Regions from separate parts of the Homo sapiens genome. Here all the other regions are linked to region 5. The links are contacts of gene promoters, found by promoter capture Hi-C in blood cells and fetal thymus (Javierre and others, 2016). All regions are on one chromosome and are shown on one strand. The core of a region is centred on a gene start or on the middle of the fragment in contact, and the rest is flanking DNA. Distances in the headings are between cores, read along the strand shown. Region 1 holds the start of KRTAP10-11 (keratin associated protein 10-11). Region 2 holds the start of TSPEAR (thrombospondin type laminin G domain and EAR repeats). Region 3 holds the start of KRTAP12-2 (keratin associated protein 12-2). Region 4 overlaps TSPEAR (thrombospondin type laminin G domain and EAR repeats). Region 5 holds the start of TSPEAR-AS2 (TSPEAR antisense RNA 2).

Evidence for each region. The method cuts DNA at HindIII sites, captures the fragments that hold promoters and counts their contacts. A CHiCAGO score of 5 or more calls a contact.
Region 1: the fragment with the promoter of KRTAP10-11 here is called in contact with the fragment with the promoter of TSPEAR-AS2 in region 5 in 3 of 17 cell types (naive CD8 T cells, total CD4 T cells and naive CD4 T cells); the score reaches 5.5 in naive CD8 T cells.
Region 2: a contact is called between a fragment that was not itself captured here and the fragment with the promoter of TSPEAR-AS2 in region 5, in 5 of 17 cell types (naive CD4 T cells, naive CD8 T cells, total CD8 T cells and 2 more). The highest score is 8.3, in naive CD4 T cells.
Region 3: the fragment with the promoter of KRTAP12-2 here is called in contact with the fragment with the promoter of TSPEAR-AS2 in region 5 in 5 of 17 cell types (naive CD4 T cells, naive CD8 T cells, total CD4 T cells and 2 more); the score reaches 10.3 in naive CD4 T cells.
Region 4: a fragment that was not itself captured here is called in contact with the fragment with the promoter of TSPEAR-AS2 in region 5 in 5 of 17 cell types (naive CD8 T cells, naive CD4 T cells, total CD8 T cells and 2 more); the score reaches 8.0 in naive CD8 T cells.

Annotation. Positions count from the first base shown.
Region 1 is chr21:44,644,134-44,647,820 of GRCh38, reverse strand. It overlaps KRTAP10-11 (keratin associated protein 10-11), which reads right to left and starts at 1,407. Exons shown (of 1, transcript NM_198692.3): 1 at 171-1,407. The coding sequence starts at 1,362. The coding sequence ends at 466. The region is part of intron 1 of TSPEAR (thrombospondin type laminin G domain and EAR repeats); the gene reads left to right. RefSeq lists an enhancer at 1-732. The HindIII fragment of the contact is 3,315 bases long and covers 1-1,506 here.
Region 2 is chr21:44,711,450-44,715,053 of GRCh38, reverse strand. It overlaps TSPEAR (thrombospondin type laminin G domain and EAR repeats), which reads left to right and starts at 3,482. Exons shown (of 12, transcript NM_144991.3): 1 at 3,482-3,604. The coding sequence starts at 3,540. RefSeq lists an enhancer at 3,522-3,604. The HindIII fragment of the contact is 2,276 bases long and covers 1,082-3,357 here.
Region 3 is chr21:44,665,413-44,669,110 of GRCh38, reverse strand. It overlaps KRTAP12-2 (keratin associated protein 12-2), which reads left to right and starts at 2,184. Exons shown (of 1, transcript NM_181684.3): 1 at 2,184-2,922. The coding sequence starts at 2,225. The coding sequence ends at 2,665. The region is part of intron 1 of TSPEAR (thrombospondin type laminin G domain and EAR repeats); the gene reads left to right. The HindIII fragment of the contact is 11,754 bases long and covers 1-3,698 here.
Region 4 is chr21:44,689,135-44,692,560 of GRCh38, reverse strand. The region is part of intron 1 of TSPEAR (thrombospondin type laminin G domain and EAR repeats); the gene reads left to right. Among named protein-coding and RNA genes, the nearest start is that of KRTAP10-12, 6.3 kb to the left of the region's middle. The HindIII fragment of the contact is 539 bases long and covers 1,189-1,727 here.
Region 5 is chr21:44,515,483-44,518,953 of GRCh38, reverse strand. TSPEAR-AS2 (TSPEAR antisense RNA 2) reads right to left here and starts at 1,739. Exons shown (of 2, transcript NR_026548.1): 1 at 1,119-1,739; 2 at 1-326. The region is part of intron 9 of TSPEAR (thrombospondin type laminin G domain and EAR repeats); the gene reads left to right. It overlaps TSPEAR-AS1 (TSPEAR antisense RNA 1), which reads right to left. Exons shown (of 7, transcript NR_103707.1): 7 at 2,379-3,457. The HindIII fragment of the contact is 11,587 bases long and covers 1-3,471 here.

The DNA.
Region 1 (3,687 bases), core at 158-2,657, 130 kb before region 5:
GTGTGGAGCTGATCACATTTGCTTTCAAAGCCTGCTGTCTTCCAAGTGTTTGATCTCGGAATGAGAGACACTGTCCTGTCTGCCTTTAACAAGACAGTGGGTCCCACACCCCAAATTTGGAGTAGGCAGAGGGGCTCAGGGGAAGAGCAGAAAGTGCACACCAGCCCGTATTTCCTGACTCAAGAATTTATTGATTAGAGCAGTTCTTCTTTGTCACATTGGGTATAAGCAACACATTTGGAGAAGGGGGCTCCAGAAAGCCACAGTCCACCTGCTGAGGGATTTGTGGGTTGTCTCTTCCCAGACAGTGGGGAGGAAAGTGTGACGCGCTCAAAATCCCCTTCAGGCAGCAGCTCTGTGGCTACTGATGGAGCTGGTGGATTCTGAGGACTCCAGGGGCTCCTGAGACTGGAGAATCCTGCTTGGCAGCAAAGACACAGTCAGCAGGAGACAAGGATTGAGCACTCAGCAGCTGGACTTCTTGCCTGAGCAGAGGCTGTAGCAGGCCAGGCGGGAGCTTGCGGGGCGGCAGAGGAGGGACACGCAGGAGGCCGGGCGGCAGCAGCTGGACTGGCAGGAGGAGGTGGGGGCACAGCAGGAGGAGACGGGCACACAGCAGGTGGACCTGCACACGGGGTGGCAGAGGAGGGACACAGAGGAGGAGGGTCTGCAGCAGGAGGTGGTGCAGCAAGCTGGCTGGCAGCTAGGCTGCTGGCAGCGTGAAGAGGAAGCCCTAGAGCAGACAGGCACACAGCAGATGGGCTTGCAGTAGACAGTCTTGCAGCAGACAGGCACGCAGCAGGCCTGCTGGTAGGAGGAGGAGGTGCAGCAAGCTGGCTGGCAGCTAGACTGCTGGCAGCATGAAGAGGAATCCTCAGAGCAGGTGGACACACAGCACACAGGCTTGCAGCAGACGGGCACACAGCAGGCCGGCTGGCAGGAGGAAGAGGCACAGCAAGCTGGCTGGCAGCTAGACTGCCGGCAGCACGAAGAAGCAGCCCCACAGCAGACAGGCACACAGCACACAGGCTTGCAGCAGACAGTCTTGCAGCAGACAGGCACACAGCAGGCCTGCTGGCAGGGGGAGGAGGTGCAGCAAGCCGGCTGGCAGCTAGACTGCTGGCAGCATGACGGCGTGCAGGAGCTGGTGCAGCCTGATTGGCAGGCGCTGGGCTCACAGGCCGCCTGGCAGCAGGGGCTGGACACACAGCTCACTGGGGTGCAGACCAGGCTCAGGGAGGGGGCCGGGGCGCAGCAGCTGGGGGCGCTGCAGGGGGGCTCACAGCAGCTCTCTGGGCAGTCGTCCACCTGCCAGGAGTCGGAGTAAGCGCTGGAGCAGACAGACATGGTGGACGCGGCCATGCTGGGGTGGGGAGGAGGTGAGCTGGGGGAGGTGTAAGTGAGTGTGTGAGTGTGTGTGTGAGTGAGTGAGTGAGGTGCTCAGGGCTGTGGGGCTTTTAAATCCCTCCCTGGCATGTGTTGTCCCAACAGGAGGCTCCACAAGCTTTTCTTCCTTGTTGGTGTTTACAGCTGGTGGCTGGAGATGCATCATTCATGCTGGTTTATCTCTTTGTTTTTCCCTTATTAAACTGGTATGTATGTCGCAGGGCTCTGTTTCTTCATCAGTTTTTATTTTGGCCACAGAAATGTGGTGGAAAATATTTCCTTTTTTTTTTTTTTTTTTTTTTTTTTTTTTGAGAGGGAGTCTTGCTCTGTCACCCAGGCTGGAGTGCAGTGGCGCGATCTCAGCTCACTGCAACCTCCGCCCCCTGGGTTCAAGCGATTCTCCCACCTCAGCCTCCCGAGTAGCTGGGATTACAGGCACGCTGTAATTTTTGTATTTTTAGTAGAGACGGGGTTTCACCATCTTGGCCAGGCTGGTCTTGAACTCCTGACCTCATGATCTACCCGCCTCAGCCTCCCAAAGTGCTGGGATTACAGGCGTGAGCCACCGCGTCCGGCCGGAAAATATTTCAAGCAAGCTTTTGTTGAGTTGAGGTTTTAGAGATGAACGTTTCTCCAAAGGAAGCAATTCTGTTTCCACCTATCCTGTTTCTGGACTGATTAGATATATTTTATTACTTTTAGCATCTTAAAACATAAACATGGAGAAAAATGTACACTTCATATGAAATAAAAACGGCACAGACGATAAGATAAGAGGAAGCTGGCTGAGCGTGGTGACTCATGCCTCTAATCCCAGTACTTTGGGGGGCTGAGGTGGGTGGATCACGAGGTCAGGAGTTTGAGACCAGCCTGGCCAGCATGGTGAAACCCGGTCTCTACTAAAAATACAAAAAATTAGCCAGGCATGGTGGCATGTGCCTGTAGTCCCAGCTACTTAGGCTGAGGCAGGAGAATTCTTGAACCCAGGAGGTGGAGGTTGCAGTGAGCTGAGATTGCACCATTGCACCCCAGCCTAGGTGACAGAGCAAGACTCTGTCTCAAAAAAAAAAAAAAAAGCTAAGTGGCCCTCCCTTCGATCCCTCACACCTTGTAAGGAGAATGCTCAGAGATTCAGTAGCTGGTGGATCCAAGCTTTATTTTTGTCTCTTCAGCTCTTCCATGCCACCCTCAGAGGCTCTTTGTTTTATTTGAAGCTGCACTCTGGATTATTTCAATTTTCATTTTGCCTTGGTGAAAGATCAAGTACTTTTTCATATATGGTGATTTTAGGACATACATTTTAAGATTCCTTGCTTGTCTGAAAATATGTCAACTTTATCCTCACATTTATAATGATAGTTTAGCTGGGTATAAAATTCTGGTTTTAAATTACTTTTCCTCAAAATGATGAACACATGTCACCATTTTTTTGTGATGTCCAGTGTTGCCGATGACAGTCTGATACTGGTCATTTGTCATTTTTTAGTTTCTCTCTTTCCTTAACTCTCTGGGAGCATTTGGGTTTCTTTTTATTGTTCTAAAGTGTCACGCTTTTGTTTCTAGGCTAATGCATTATTTTACTTTCAGTGGTTAGAACTTATTGAGCCTTTCAATATAAAGACTTATCTCCGAAGTGTTTTTCCATTTTTAATAATAATTTCATCTTTCCTGGTCTCTCTTTTTATGACTTTTTATTTCATCTTGTGATGAATGAAATATGTTATCCATTCACTCTGATGATGTTACTTTGAGTTTTTAAATGTTTTTTTCTTGTTTCCTTGGACATCAGATAGTCTGCTCATTGGTGGCAGTTCATTCAGTTTTCTGAATAAAAGACTATTTTATTCCAGTGCATTAGGGTCCTGCTCCAATTTACTCCCTAACCTGTTTCTGTCTGCTTCTCTTTTCTACAAACATATGAAGGACCCTGCTGAGCCTCCCGTTTTTGTTAGATAATTTTGATTTCATTTTTTATAACTCTTTAAATATCCTTTCAGTGATTATTAGTACAGGTGTGTGAGATCTGTGTGCTTAATCCGCTTTCTGGGACTGAAGGACTTGGTGATGCTTTCAGGAGATGATAGGAAAGCCAGGAAGTCTAGGGTGACATCGTATTAGTGGATGTACTACAGACACACACAGTGCACGTACAGTCTTTTTACGTCAGCCACAACATGAGGTGCAACTGTAGAGCCCTGGACTCACTGGAGACATGACTTTTTGGATCATGGAACTTTCCACTGGGGGCCAGCAGGGCAGCTTCTGTGGACAATCAAATGATCAAACCATTTCTTAAATCAA
Region 2 (3,604 bases), core at 970-3,469, 200 kb before region 5:
CGTTTGGAGGCAGAGTTAGCAGACCTGGGATGGGCTGCCGTTCCTTCCTATGCTGTGAGGGCCTGGTGCCCCGTGAATTCCCTTGTTAACAATGCAGCACTTACCCAACCTGCTTCTCGGGAGTGAAGCTCAGTTCTGATGTCTGATGTTATGGCAGGGACATGCTTTCTTCTTTGCACATGCATTTCTCTTAGTGGGTTCTGGGGATTCGTCTCCATGAGACTTTGATACACATGATGTGGAGGATTTCTCTCTTTTCTTTTCCTCTTTCTTTCTTGCTTAGTCTATTTTCACACCGCTATAAAGAACTACCTGAGACTGGGTAATTTACGAAGAAAAGAGGTTTAATTGACTCACAGTTCCACAGGCTTAACGGGAAACATGGCTAGGAGACCTCAGGAATCTTACAATCATGGCGGAAGGTGAAGGGGAAGCCAGCACATCTTACCAAGGTGGAGCAGGAGAGAGAGAGAGAGAGCAAAGGGGAATGCCCTATACCTTTGAAGAAACAGATCTCATGAGAATTCCATCATGAGACAGCACAAGACGGATGGTGCTAAAGCATTGGAAACCACCCCCATGATCCAATCACCTCCCACCAGGCCCCTTCTTCAACATGTGGGAATTGCAATTTGACATGAGATTTGGGTGGGGACTCCTTCCCCTCCCCTCCCCTCCCCTGCCTCCCTCCCTCCTCCCCTCCCTTGCTTCTTTCCTTCCTTCCTTCCTTCCTCTTTCTTTCTCTCTCGACAGTCTTCCTCTGTCTCCCAGGCTGGAGTGCAGTGGTATGATCATGGCTCACGGCAACCTCCACCTCCTGGGCTCAAGTGATCCTTCAATCTCAGCCTCCTGAGTAGCTGGCACTATAGGTGCACACCATCACGTCCAGCCAATTTTTAGAATTTTTTGTAGACATGGAGGCTCACTATGTTGTCACTGTTGGTCTTGAACTCCTCGGTTCAAGCAATCTTCCCAGTTCGGCCTCACAAACTGCTAGGATTTCAGGCGGGTGCCACCTCGCCCAGCCTAAGCAGGCTTCTGATCACTGATGTCTCAGAGCTCCGCGTGGGTGAGCCAAGCTTGTGTCCCTGAGGAAGGGGCTGTGGAGTCCACCTGCAAATGCACCTGCTTTTTCTCATCGAGCATTTTGGAGCTGGTGTTCCCTGGGTCGTGGTTCCAGAAATGCTGATTTAGGTACGTTATAGCTATCACTTAATTTATAGGACAGCCCTACCACATGTGTCCTCCTAGGCACATTTTACAGACGTGGAAGTTAAACCTTGGAGAATGTAAGTGACTTGTCCAGGGTCACACAGGGAGCTGTAGAGGAGGGAACTCTGAGCTTTCCTCCTGCGCTCAGCACATCTTTGTGAAGTTTCGTATGTGAGGAGGATTTCCACTGGCTCACCCTTAGTTATCTTTGAGGCTATTACTAGTGCTACTGCATCAAATGTAACATAAGAAAAATTTTGCCGGAAGGGTTCAAGGCAGCTTAATTGTGATTGTTTAAATTAGCTCTGGAGTGCCACCTGCCCATCATTTGGGGGGAGTCCCCATCCCCTCAGGGGCGTGGTCTCAGAGGCCACTGTGACCCGCAGCTGGCCTGGGAGCGGCCTGGCCCAGGACAAAGTTCTCATGGATTGGGACACAAAAGAGGAAGACTCCATTTATTCCATTTACACAACGATCAGGCCTTTCGCTCCTCTGAGGAACCACGTCGTCCCTCATTAGGTTAGGGTTGTCAGGAATGGTGCTATGTGGAGCGTTTCCAGCTGCTGAGCCCCAGTGGGGTGGGGAGCCCACTCAGGAAGCCTCTGTCCTGGCACTGCATGCCCACCGGAGCTGGCAGGGGGTCCTGGGGGGTGAGGGAGACACACCCCACCCCAGGGCTCACTTGGGTGCTGGAAGAGGAGTCACATATAATGGGAGACCTTCAACCTCCCTTCATATGATGCCAGTTAACTCAAGCCTCATAAATAGGACTACGAATTAATATCTGTGAATTAATATTAACTATGAATTAATATCCCTGGGGGCAGGGCCGGGTAAAAGAGGAAGCGAGAGGGAGACAGAATGAGCCTGTCCCATCGCAGGGGCTGTTTATGGGAAGAGCCTCCAGAGCCCCAGGAGCTCTCTGTGCCTCCCCACTTTCTCCCTCTCCCTCTAGGTCTTTCCCCAGTCTCTGTCCCTCTCTTCGGCCCCTTTCTCCTTCCCTCCCTCCATCTCTGTCTCTCTCCACAAGCCCTAATGACAGGGTCTATGCTCTTGGAAAACTCATTGTGTCAGAGGTCCCAGAGTGGGGGCTTCCTTCTGAAACTAGCAGGAGTGTGTGCACTTTGTGGGCCTGTGAACCAGGGAAAGCCATCGGCCTCAGACCAGTTTGCCAGGGCCTCCACACCAGGCACAGAAACGCAGCACCCAGTTGCGTTGGAGATTTCTGCAAGAATGCTGCGTTCAGTGCTGTTTGGAGAGGGTAGGGGGGCAGGGCACTTTTGTAAAAAGAATACTTCTAGTTAATAGCTGCTCCCCTCGAGTGGCATGCCCATTGCAGTGTCGAGAGGTCAGATGCGAGGGTCCTCGGCTCTGGATGAGTGACCATGGCCGTGCCCCTTCCCTGAGGGACACTCACCCACTCCTTCTCATTAGCTGTTCCCTTTAAGGACCGACTTCCCTCCAGAGGGAAATTCCTGAAACCCAACAGTTGACAAACCCACACACCCTCGGGAGGGCTGGGCACCAGATAAAAAGCCCTCCGAGGGAGCCCAGCCCCTCCTGGGGATGGACGGCCGCTGCCGCCGGGGGACCCAGCAGAGCCCGGGACCTGCCGCCTAGACCCCCAGCAGAGCCTGGGATCTGCCTCCAGGACCACCCCCCACCCCCCGCAGAGCACAGGACCTACCTCTGGGACCCCCCCTCCCCACCACAGCAGAGCCCCGACCTGCCTCTAGGACCCCCTAGCAGAGCCCCGACCTGCCTCTGGGACCCTCCAGCAGACTGTGGGGACCTGCTGCCCAAACCCCCAGCCAGAGTGCACCCGCCCCACCCGCTCCCGGCCTGCCATGGTCGCCTGTGCCCCTGGTCCTAAAAGGCGGTGAGCCCAGGGAGCCTGCGCCTGAGGGAAACGGGTCTCCTAAGTTTCTCTGGCTTGTTCTCAGCTCTCCGCAGCACGATCTATTTCTGTCTTTCCTTTTGGAAAGTGTGCTTTGCCAGCGACTAATCCCAGGCCGGGCCGAGATTGTTATCACCTGTCACCTGCACGCAGGGCCCAAGCCCATCAGGGAAATGAAGAGATAAACCAGCGGCTGCAGCCCAACCTGCCAGGGGCCACCTGCCTCCCGCAGGCAGCAACCAGAAGCTTCCCCACTGCGACCGCCAGGGCCACCTCTGTCCCCGCCTTAGGCCGCTGGCATGTGGCCGTCGCAGTGACCCCCGGGGGCCCCGCGGCCGCCCCTGGAAAGGCTGACGCAGACGTCTGAGGAGCAGCCACTTCCCTGCAGGCTGAGCGGAGCCCTGGATGGAGCTTGGCACCCAAGCCCCTCATGTCTGCCCTGCTGAGTCTGTGTTTTGTGCTGCCCCTGGCGGCCCCCGGCCACGGCACGCAGGG
Region 3 (3,698 bases), core at 935-3,434, 150 kb before region 5:
TCACAGGCTCTTTTCATTTTTCTTAATTCTTTTTCTTCCTCTCCTTCATTTTGGATAATTTCTATTGATGTGCTTCAAGTTCATGAACTCTTCTTCAATCTCATTCTATATTTACGTCTATCATGTGGATTTTAAAATATCAGCTATTGTACATTTTAGTTCTAGCATTCCCATTTAAAAAATAGTTTCAATTTCCCTACTGAGATTCTCTATCTTTGATCTTGAGTTAATTTTGTATATGGTGTGAGGTAAGGGTTAAAAATAATCTTTTGTGTGTGGATATCCTGTTTTCCCACTGCCATTTGTTAAAAAGTCTGTTCTTCCCTCACTGAAAGGTCTTGACAGCCTTGCCGAAAATTATTTGACTGTAGTTGTGAGAGTTTATTTCTGGGCTCTCTATGCTATTCCATTAGTCTATATATTGGTCTTTATGCCAGTACCACAGTTTTGATTAGTGTAGCTTTGTAGTAAGTTTTGAAATCAGAAAGTGTGACTCCTCCAGCTCTATTCTTTTCTTAAGATTGATTTGGCTATTTAGGGTCCCTTGAGACTCCACATAAACTTTAGGATGGGTTTTTCTATTTCTGCAAGAAATGTCCTTGGGATTTTGACAGGGATTGCATTGAATCTGTAGATTGCTTTGGTTAGTATGGACATATTAACAATATTAATTTCCAATTCATGAACATGGGATGTGTTTCCATTTATTTCTGTTGCCTTTAATTTCTTTCAACGTTTTGTAGTTTTTGTTACACAATTATTTTAATTCTTTGGTTAACTCCTGAGTATTTTGTTCTTTTTAATGTATTGTAAATGGAATTGTTATTGTACTTTCCTTTTGAGATTATGCTTGTTAGTTTATGGAAATAGAACTGATTTTTGTGTTTTGCTTTTGTATCCTGCTACTTTGCTGAATTCATTTATTCTAAAATTTTTGTGTGTGGAATATTTAGAGTTTTCTACATATAAAAATCATGTCATCTGTGAACACAGCTAACTTTACTTCTTGCTTTTCAATTTGGATGCTTTTTGTTTCTTTCTTTCTTCCTTTTAAAAACAATTGCCTAGTTGCTCTTAGTAAAACTTCTAGTACTATGCTGGCTTTGTTCCCAATATTAGAGAAAAAGCCTTCAGTTTTTCACCAGTGGGTATGAGGCTTGCTGTGGGTCTTTCATGTATGGCTTGTATTGTGTTGAGGTAGTTTTCTTCTATTCTTAGTTTGTTGATTGTTGTCATCATGAAAGAATCTTGAATTTTGTGAAATGCCTTTTCTATATCAATTGAGATGATCACGTGGTTTTTTCCTTCATTCTGTTATCATGATGCCAAGTTCCAAGTGATCTGGTGTTGACATCTGTAGGCTCAGAGATTCTACTGTCCCTGCAGTACAGGGTGCACATGGCTTTCTGCTGAACATACCCAGAAGTCATTCTGGCCCTTGGAACCTTCTATATTCAGCTCACACATATCCTGCTGTGGCTGTCCATGGGACCCTTCACTGGCCTCACATGCTTCCCTGGGAACATGCTTGGACCAGCTTGATTTCCTTAGAGCTGTGTCTCCATGCATGAGGGCCAGTGGTGTTGTCTCATCTTGGTTCTTAACTAGGAGGATTTCTCAAGACAAAGATCCATGGTCACCACTCACAAGAAGTTCTCTGTGACCCACACCCTTTGTCCCCACTCATCCTATGGACAAGTGATTTCCATGTTCTTCCTCCATCTGCTAGCTCTCATCCAGCTCTAAGCTCTCAGGACACCCACAGATCAGCTAGACACGTCCTGTTCTACCTCACATTGACTGTGGAGCCTTCCTGAGCCATGAGAGGAGTGTAAACTTCTGTGGTTTAAGGACCATCATCACACAGAGAGGAAAAAAATCTGGAGATCTGAGTTTTTGGAATCTCACAAAAGTAACTCAGGTAAAATTTTAAAGAACAAGGAAGAATCTTGATGAAGCCAGTAAAACACTCTGGCAGGTTTCCAAGCATACCAAGAGTTCGAAGAAGGTGCAATTAGTCATGAAGCTAAGGGCCAAACAAAACCCAGAGACACCTACAACAGAAAATTAAGCTCCAGGAGACAGCACTGAGGAAGAAAAACAAGGAAGACAGGTGTGCTTCTGTGCTGTGGGGATGCCTGGGCCCAGGTATAAAGGCTGCCCAGGGAGGCCGTCCCCAGACATCACTGCCCTCTGCCTCGACCTTATCCAGCCACACGCCACCATGTGTCATACCAGCTGCTCCTCGGGCTGCCAGCCAGCCTGCTGCGCGCCCAGCCCCTGCCAGCCAGCCTGTTGTGTGCCCAGCTCCTGCCAGGCATCCTGCTGTGTGCCTGTGGGCTGCCAGTCCTCCGTGTGTGTGCCCGTGAGCTTCAAGCCAGCCGTGTGCCTGCCCGTGAGCTGCCAGTCTTCTGTGTGTGTGCCCATGAGCTTCAAGTCAGCTGTGTGCGTGCCCGTGAGCTGCCAGTCTTCTGTGTGTGTGCCTGTGAGCTGCAGGCCCATTGTGTGTGCAGCCCCCTCCTGCCAGTCCTCCCTGTGCGTGCCTGTGAGCTGCAGGCCTGTCGTGTATGCGGCTCCGTCCTGCCAGTCCTCTGGGTGCTGCCAGCCCTCCTGCACCAGCGTCCTCTGCAGACCCATCTCCTACAGTATCTCTTCCTGCTGCTGAGCATGAATCTCCAGACCCGCTGCTCCCAGTGCAGATGAGGCCACACCTGTACACTCCCTGGATGAGTCCTCAGTTGGTCTTCTGCACATGGTGCAGGTGAAAAGCATGCTCAGTTGAACCCTCTGAATTCTGGATTGAGAATGTGACAGAATGATCTGGAGCCCTTGCTGACCTTGCCCATCCCCCCAGGGAAGTCTGGGGTCCCAGAGTCATTCTCTGACCCCATGAGAGCCAAATAAACCAGCTTTCCCCATGCAGCTCTGCATTTCTGGTCTTTCTTTTTTATTTCCATACTCCCTGCTATCTATTCTGCTGATTACATAGAATTTGCTGCTAAACCCTCTTCAGTGATCCCTTCACCCAGTGCTCATCAGAAGGTGGTGTCCCGGGTGGAGGGCGCAGCTGCAGATGCCCATGTGGTCTCTCCCAGGGCTCCTGGGGCCCAGGTGCAGTGGCCACAGAAGTGACTTACCCGCCTGTGGTAGAGTGGTCTCGCTTCCCCACTGGCTGTCCACTCCTGCTCCAGGCCAACAAGCCCTGCACTGATGGCCAAAGCCTCAGAGCATTGACAATTGGGTTTTCTGATGTGGTTGGTGGACGTCCTGTTTCCCAGGTCGCGGAGGATCTCAAGTTTACAGAACTGGATTAGTTCTGCGGCACACACTCCCATCACTGGTCCACAAAGGCTTGGTTTTTATTGATTGACTGATGATCAATTACTGAGGATCCTAATATAATAAACCCGCATGAACCCACTGCCTGACATAGAAATGAGAACATCATCAATAATTTACCAAGAACTTCTTGGGGCAGCCACTGTTGGGATTGTGTGCTCCTTATTCTGTTACTTTCTAGAAAAAATAGAGTTGAGTCATATCTCTATGTATTCCTGAAATGGGTGTTTTCTAATTTAGTAATTTCTGGTGATATGAAAAGGAAATTATTCAGAATGTAATCTGGAACTTGCTTTTCCCAGTCTGCGTTGTGCTGGTAGCATTCTTCTGCATTTCCCCTGTCTGGGCTGTATTCCCCT
Region 4 (3,426 bases), core at 209-2,708, 170 kb before region 5:
GTGTATAGAAACATGCATGATTTTTGTATGTTGATCTTGTACCCTGAAACTTTGGTGAATTCTTTAATAAAGCTCTAGTAGCTTTCTTGTGGATTCTTTGGGATTTTCTATAGACATGATCATGTCACCCGTGAATAGAAATAATTTTACTTCTTCCTTTCCAATTTTAATGACTTTTATTTATTTATTTTTCTTGTTTAATAGCTCTGGCTAGAACTTCCAGTACAATGTTGAATATTGGTGGTGAAAAGGGACATCCTGTCTTGTTCCTAATCTTAGGGGGAAAGCTTTCAGTCTTTCACTGTCAAGTATAATGCAAGCTGTGGGTTTTTCATACATGCTGTTTAGCATGTTGAGGAAATTCCCTTCTATTTCTAGTTTTCTGAGTGTTTTAAAATCATAAAATGGTGTTGGACTTTGTCAAAGCCTTTTCTTTGTTAATTGAGATCATGTGGGTTTTTTCACTTCATTCTCTTCGTGTGGTATACTACATTGATTATTTTTAATCTGGAGCTATCTTTGCATTCCTGGGATAAATCCAACTTGGTCATGGTATATAATCCTTTTAATATGCTGTTGGAATCACTTTGCTAGTATTTTGTTGAGAATTTTTGCATCTGTACTTACAAGTCATGTTCGTCTGTGATTTTCTTTTCTTTTGATGTCTTATGTGGGTTTGGTATCAGCATAATGTTTGCTTCACAGAGTGAGTTAGAAAGTGATCCTTCTATTTTTTTCTTTCACAACTTGAGGAGGTTTTTGTTAAATTTTAAAAAAATGTTTGGTGATATTCACCAGTAAAGCTGTTGTTGGGTGGAGTGTCTATACATATCTTTTGTGAGTAACTGGTTTATAGTGGGTTCAGTTCTCTATTTCCTATTGACCTTCTGACTAGATGTTCTGTTCATTATTGAAAATGAAATATTAAAGTCTCCAACTATTGTAGAACTATTTCTCACTTGAATTCTGTCAATGTTTGCTTCATATATGTGGGGACTCTTTGTATGGTGCATATATGTTTCTAATTCTCATATCTTTGATGAGTTGAATCTTTTATCAATACATAATGTCCTCATGCATTTTTGCAATTGGAACAATATGGATGAATAGGTCCTTGATGTTCTGTCTCTCAGTTCTTAGGGTCTTAGTGTACGGATGGGGACATAAGGATTCTTGAAAAAATAAGCTTATTATAGAGAAAGTCAGCTGTGAGTAATGGCTGATACAACATATGTTGTTAACAGTTATACGTTAGAGACATAGGGGTGAGTGCCATTCTTTGCTATCAGCTCTGTTCCCTGGCCTAATGATGCACATGCTAATTCCGTAATCTCTTAGAGCTTGGGGAGAGAGAGGGACTCAAAGCAACAAGGTTGTAAAATCATGTTCTTAGGAGACATTTCAGATGTTACCTAGGTAAGGGGGTGAGCTGGGGAGAGAGAGAGAAGTGTGGAGAGAGGAGAGAAGGGGAGAGGAGGCGAGGGGAGATGAAGGGAAGGGAGGGGAGGAGGACAAACTAATAGGTGTCTGGATTCTCCATCCCACTTTAAATTAGAGAAGCTGTGTTTTAATCTGTTTTACAGACTTGACTTCTAGGTCAGATTCAGTTTGAAAAAATATTTCCACTACTTTAAAATATTTTGAAAAGAGCCTGGCATGGTGGTGCATACCTGTAGTCCCAGCTACTTGAGAGGCTGAGGTGGAAGGATCACTTGAGCCCAGAAGCTTGATGCTAGACTGACAACATGGCAAGACCACCCCTTCTCTATAAACAAACAGACAAACAAAAATGTAGAAAAGCAAATGACCACACCCCCAGAGGATAAAATACATGCTACTTAGCCTTAGAAAAACACATATGCTTACTTAATAGTTTTATGGTTAATAATTTGCTGTCATGTTTACTGCTTATCTTAAGAACTGCTTATCTTCTGTTTAACCTGTTTATTTACAGCATGCTCATCTTTGAAAGCGTGGGCTGAATGCTGACCTCCCGGACATCATGAGTGTTGTTCTGTGAGTCTGTAGCCTTCAGTGCTGCTGATGAGATGTCTGATGCTAATCTGATTTTTATTGCTTGTGGGTGACTTGTTCATTTGTTTGTTTGTTTGATTTTCTGGAAGCCCATGGGAACCACTTGTTATCTTTGATGTTATATCATTTCAACAGAGGACATATCTAGGATTTTTCCGTTCATTTTTCTTGGCATCACTTGGTTCTTTTCAGCCTGAAGACTGTGTCTTTAGCCTTGGGAAATGCTCCTCTTTAGGAGTTTATTTGTGCATCCGCTCATCATTCTCACTGTCCCGCTTTGTGGGACTCCCACACATCAGGGATTACATTCACTAGATCAGTCATTTATGGTATTTTTTCCTCATTTCTTTTTTATCTCTTTGACGTTTTGTTCCAAATCAGAGCGATTTCTCAACCTCATGGTGATGGTTAATACTGAGTGTCAACTTGATTGGATTGAAGGATGCAAAGTACTGATCCTGGGAGTGTCTGTAAGGGTGTTGCCAAAGGAGATTCACATTTGAGTCAGTGGCTGGGAAAGGCAGGCCCACCCTTAATCTGAGTGGGCACCATCTAATCAGCTGCCAGCGAATATAAAGCAGACAGAAAAAATGTGAAGAGGCGAGACTGGCCTAGCCTCCCAGCCTACATCTTTCTGCTGTGCTGGATGCTTTCTGCCCTTGAACACTGGACTCCAAGTTCTTCAGTTTTGGGACTCAGACTGGATCTCTTTGCTCCTCAGCTTGCAGACGGCCTATTGTGGGACCTTGTGATCATGTTAGTTAATACTTAGTAACCCCCCCCAAAATATATATATATATATATATATATATATTCATTCTATTCTGTCCCTCTAAGGGAACCCTAATACACTCACCTTCAAGCCTCTCTGTTTAATTTTAAATATCAATGAGATGTTTAATATCTGTGACATTTTAGGGATCATTGTTCTAATTGTTCATTTTCAAAGCATCTTGTCCTTGTTTGGTAGATGTAACATCTTCCTGAATATCTGAGTGTATTTAGGACTTTTTTTTTTTTTATTCGAGATGGAGTCTCGCTCTGTCGCCCAGGCTGGAGTGCAGTGGCATGATCTCAGCTCACTGCAAGCTCCGCCTCCCAGGTTCACGCCATTCTCCTGCCTCAGCCTCCTGAGTAGCTGGGACTACAGGCACCCGCCAACACGCCTGGCTAATTTTTTGTATTTTTAGTAGAGACGGGGTTTCACCGTGTTAGCCAGGATGGTCTCGATCTCCTGACCTCGTGATCCGCCCGCCTCGGCCTCCCAAAGTGCTGGGATTACAGGCGTGAGCCACCGTGCCCGGCCGTATTTAGGATTTTTTAAGTTCCTTAAACCATTGGTTTCCCCTGGGTGCAGTGATATGTTAGTTTATCTTGGTCTTGCTTTTCGTG
Region 5 (3,471 bases), core at 490-2,989:
ATCCGGCCGACAGCAGTTCCCGTGGAAACACCCGGGGCTCCACACCAGTCATGTGTCATCAGGATCATACTGGTGCCCTGACATGAACGTGCGCCCTGCTGGCCCCAGGCTCACACATGCAGAGCCCCAGCACACTGGAGCATGTTTGAGGAGCTTTGCCAGAACCAGGAAGGGATTTGAAACGTTATCACACAAGGAATAGTTGCAGGACTTGAGGCTTTATCCTGAAAGAAGACGTAGGCAGTCACTTCCAATCATCTAACGAATGAGCTGGTGGGGGGCAGGGGGCGGGCCTCCAGGGGGTCTTGAGAGCAGAGTCGCGCACCCTGGATGGAAAGGCACCACAAGTGACTTTCTCGTCAACTAGGCAAGGTCTCCTAACAGCTGTTGTGCCACGGAGAGGCTGCTGTCCTGGAGGTCCTGCATTCTAAATCACAAAGTGAGGTGACAAGAGAAAGGATCCCTGCAGTGGGTTGGGGAGTGCGTTTTGGAGATTATCATCCTAGATCTACCAACACCGTGATCCTAAAGCCCCTGTGATAACACCAAGTCCAATTTACAGTGTCTTCTTCACGACACTGCACCAAGGTGCTCAAGATGCCCCAGTGCCCCAGAGCGTACCTGGCCAGCTGCGTGTCACCCATGCCATCCTCTCCAGCTAAGGGTCCCCGGATGTTTGACAAAAATCCTGAAAACTGCAGGAGTCAGGCTAAAGAAAAAGGCTGAAAGAAACTGAGCTAGCTCTAGAAACAGAAAGGAATTTTTTTAAGTTATACTTGTCTTCAGAAGTATTCAAGATGATACTGCACTTACGAAATAAAAAATGCTACTAATGAGACAGAGAGCTTGGACATTAAAAATGCAATTGCTGGCATTAAAAGAAGACATTCATTAACATGACTGAAATATAAAGTTAAGAGTATCTTCTAGAATGTAGAATGAAAAGAGACAGAATCAAACCAGGAGAGTCTGTATCTGGCTAACCAAAGTTCTAGAAAAAAAAGAAGAGGGTGAGGACAGTGATGGAATTGTCAGAGAAGGCTTGAAGAAAACCGCCCAGATCTCATCAGACTGAAAGGGCGCTGAGCCCAAGGAGCGCGAGAGCAAAGGAAAGTTACCTTCAAAGCACACAGGAGCCGCGGCAGCCTGGGATTTCCCATCGGCAGCCCTGGATATCAGGAGGTAGGAGGGCTCAGTGTTCTGAAGGCGAGTGATGTCCACAGAGCCCCCGCAGGACAAGGACGCTGGCCACTGCCATGCACGGCTCCCACATGTCAGTGGCTTCCTGCCATATTGGGTTAGTTCTCATATCAAGTCAGACAAGGAGCACACACGGTGGGAAGCAGCAGGAAGGGGCTGACCTGACCTGTGCTCACAGCCCATGGGCCAGTGCCAGTCACATGTCCCAGCCTAGCTGGACCTGTACTCACGTGTCCTCACAGCTCATTGGCTAATGCTTGTCATATGACCCAGCCTAGCTGGACCTGTGCTCACGTCCTCACAGCTCATTGGCTAGTGCCAGTCACATGACCCAGCTTGTCCCTGTGTCACGTGTACTCACAGCTCATTGGCTAGTGCTGGTCATATGACCCAGTCTCCTGTCAGTCTGAGACCTGTGGGAGCCCTGGACTAGGCGGTGTTCCTGGGGGGTGCACTGGCAAGCCCAGGTACTCAACCAGAATGAGAAGATCAGAACTGGAAGTGGTGGCTCCACCCAAAGATGACCATAAGGAAAGTTCTGGAATGAGAACTGGTATGTGTCCTAGAGAGAAGCCAGCCCAGATGGTCTGGGGTCAGGGAGGGCATAAGAGGGGGTTTGGGGGCTGTGGAGTCCACGGAGCACAAAGTGTGTCCAGGGATGGCGTGCTGAAGGAGTGACAGAAGCACAGACTGCAGGAGTCGAGGAAGGCAGAGACACAGGGGCCAGGCCAGGACGGCCTTCCTGTGCAGCAGCCGCTGAGGTGGGACAGGACCGAAAGCCCCAGGGTGCAGGAGCGAGGGGCTCCTGCGATGGGAAGATGGGAGAGCTGGGAGCGTTCTCGCATGCAGAGCTGGTGTGTTTTCTTCCTCTGGGAAGGAAGGAGGGGAGGGCCATACCCAGGAGGGGACAACTAGAAACTTGTTGAAAAGCAGCGTACATAGATCACAGGTCCAAGGACGAAGCAGGTGAACCCGTCCTGTGATTTTAAGCATGAAAGGAGAATGTTTGCCTGGCATGGGGGACTGCCCCAGGGATGGCACAGTTGGTCATCCCGACATAGAAATCGCCTGGGTGGGTGGTGCCATAGCCCGGCCCCTGGCTCTGGGGGCTGACATTACCGTAAGGTCAGGACCACACGAAGCTGATCCTGATGTGTCACTCAGAGAATCGCCCCGTGGCCGAACCCACCCTGGGCGCGGGTGTTGGTGTTTATTAGTGGAGGTACAACCCAGGCTGCTTGGGGGAGGGGAGAAGGAGAGCAGAGGCCCTGCATCTCCATCCCACACCCTACACCGTGGGTGAAGAGGCGAGGCCAGAAGCCGCCCACCAGGAATCAGAGGAGCTCCCAGCAGCACCCACTGAGGAGGACAGTTGCCACAGACCCTAAGCAGGAGCAGCTCTGCCTTCAGGTGCCCAGACCAGGTGCAGGCAGGCAGCCTGGCGCTCCCAGATAAACAAGGCCTGGCAGCCCTGGCCACTGCCCTGCATGTGGAGCACAGCTCCCTTCACTCCTGACAGCCTCATTCTGAAAGCCCTGGAATTCCTGCTGATGGCAGCCTTCCTTGTTTTCCTGTTTTGGAAAGCCTTTTGGAGATTTCTGGAAGGTGGTCTGTGGCTGCGCATCCTCAGCTGGTTGGCGATTCCACCTCAGACCCATCTCACAGGTGTGGAAACTGAGGCTCAGGAGCAGGGACCTGGCCACAAACACACGGCGGTAAGCGGCCGAGCCAGGGCGTCCACAGGTGTCCCTGTGTCCACATGAATCGCCTCCTCTGTGCCTGCCCCATGGGGATGGAGCCTGCAGCCTGGTTTGGGCCGTGACGGGAGTGCCTGGGACGCCTCACACCATGGTGGGGTCTCAGCCCTTCACTCATGGGGCCCATCCCTTTGATGGACTACCTGCTCTTCATGAAATGACGTCGGGACTGGATTCTGAGCTTCGTTGATCTTTGTGTGTTCTGGAAGGCAGTCGGGAGGTGTTCGTGGAACGTGGTTACCGAAAAACACGGGGCTTCTGTCACGGGTGATGTGGTGGAGGTGGCAGCCCAGCCCAGAAGGCGGCCACTCTACATTTTCAGGCCGCGTGTGAAGGCCAGCTTTGATCTACACCAAGGACTGGAGCAGTGGTCCTGGAGATGCACGGGCATCCTCAGAAGGGGGCCAGCAGCAAAGGGGCAGAAATGGAACCACCGGAACCAAGGGGAGGGTCTGGGCTAGCGACCCATGGCGAAGTCCCAAGGGGTGGGTGACATCCGCCTGAAAGAAACATC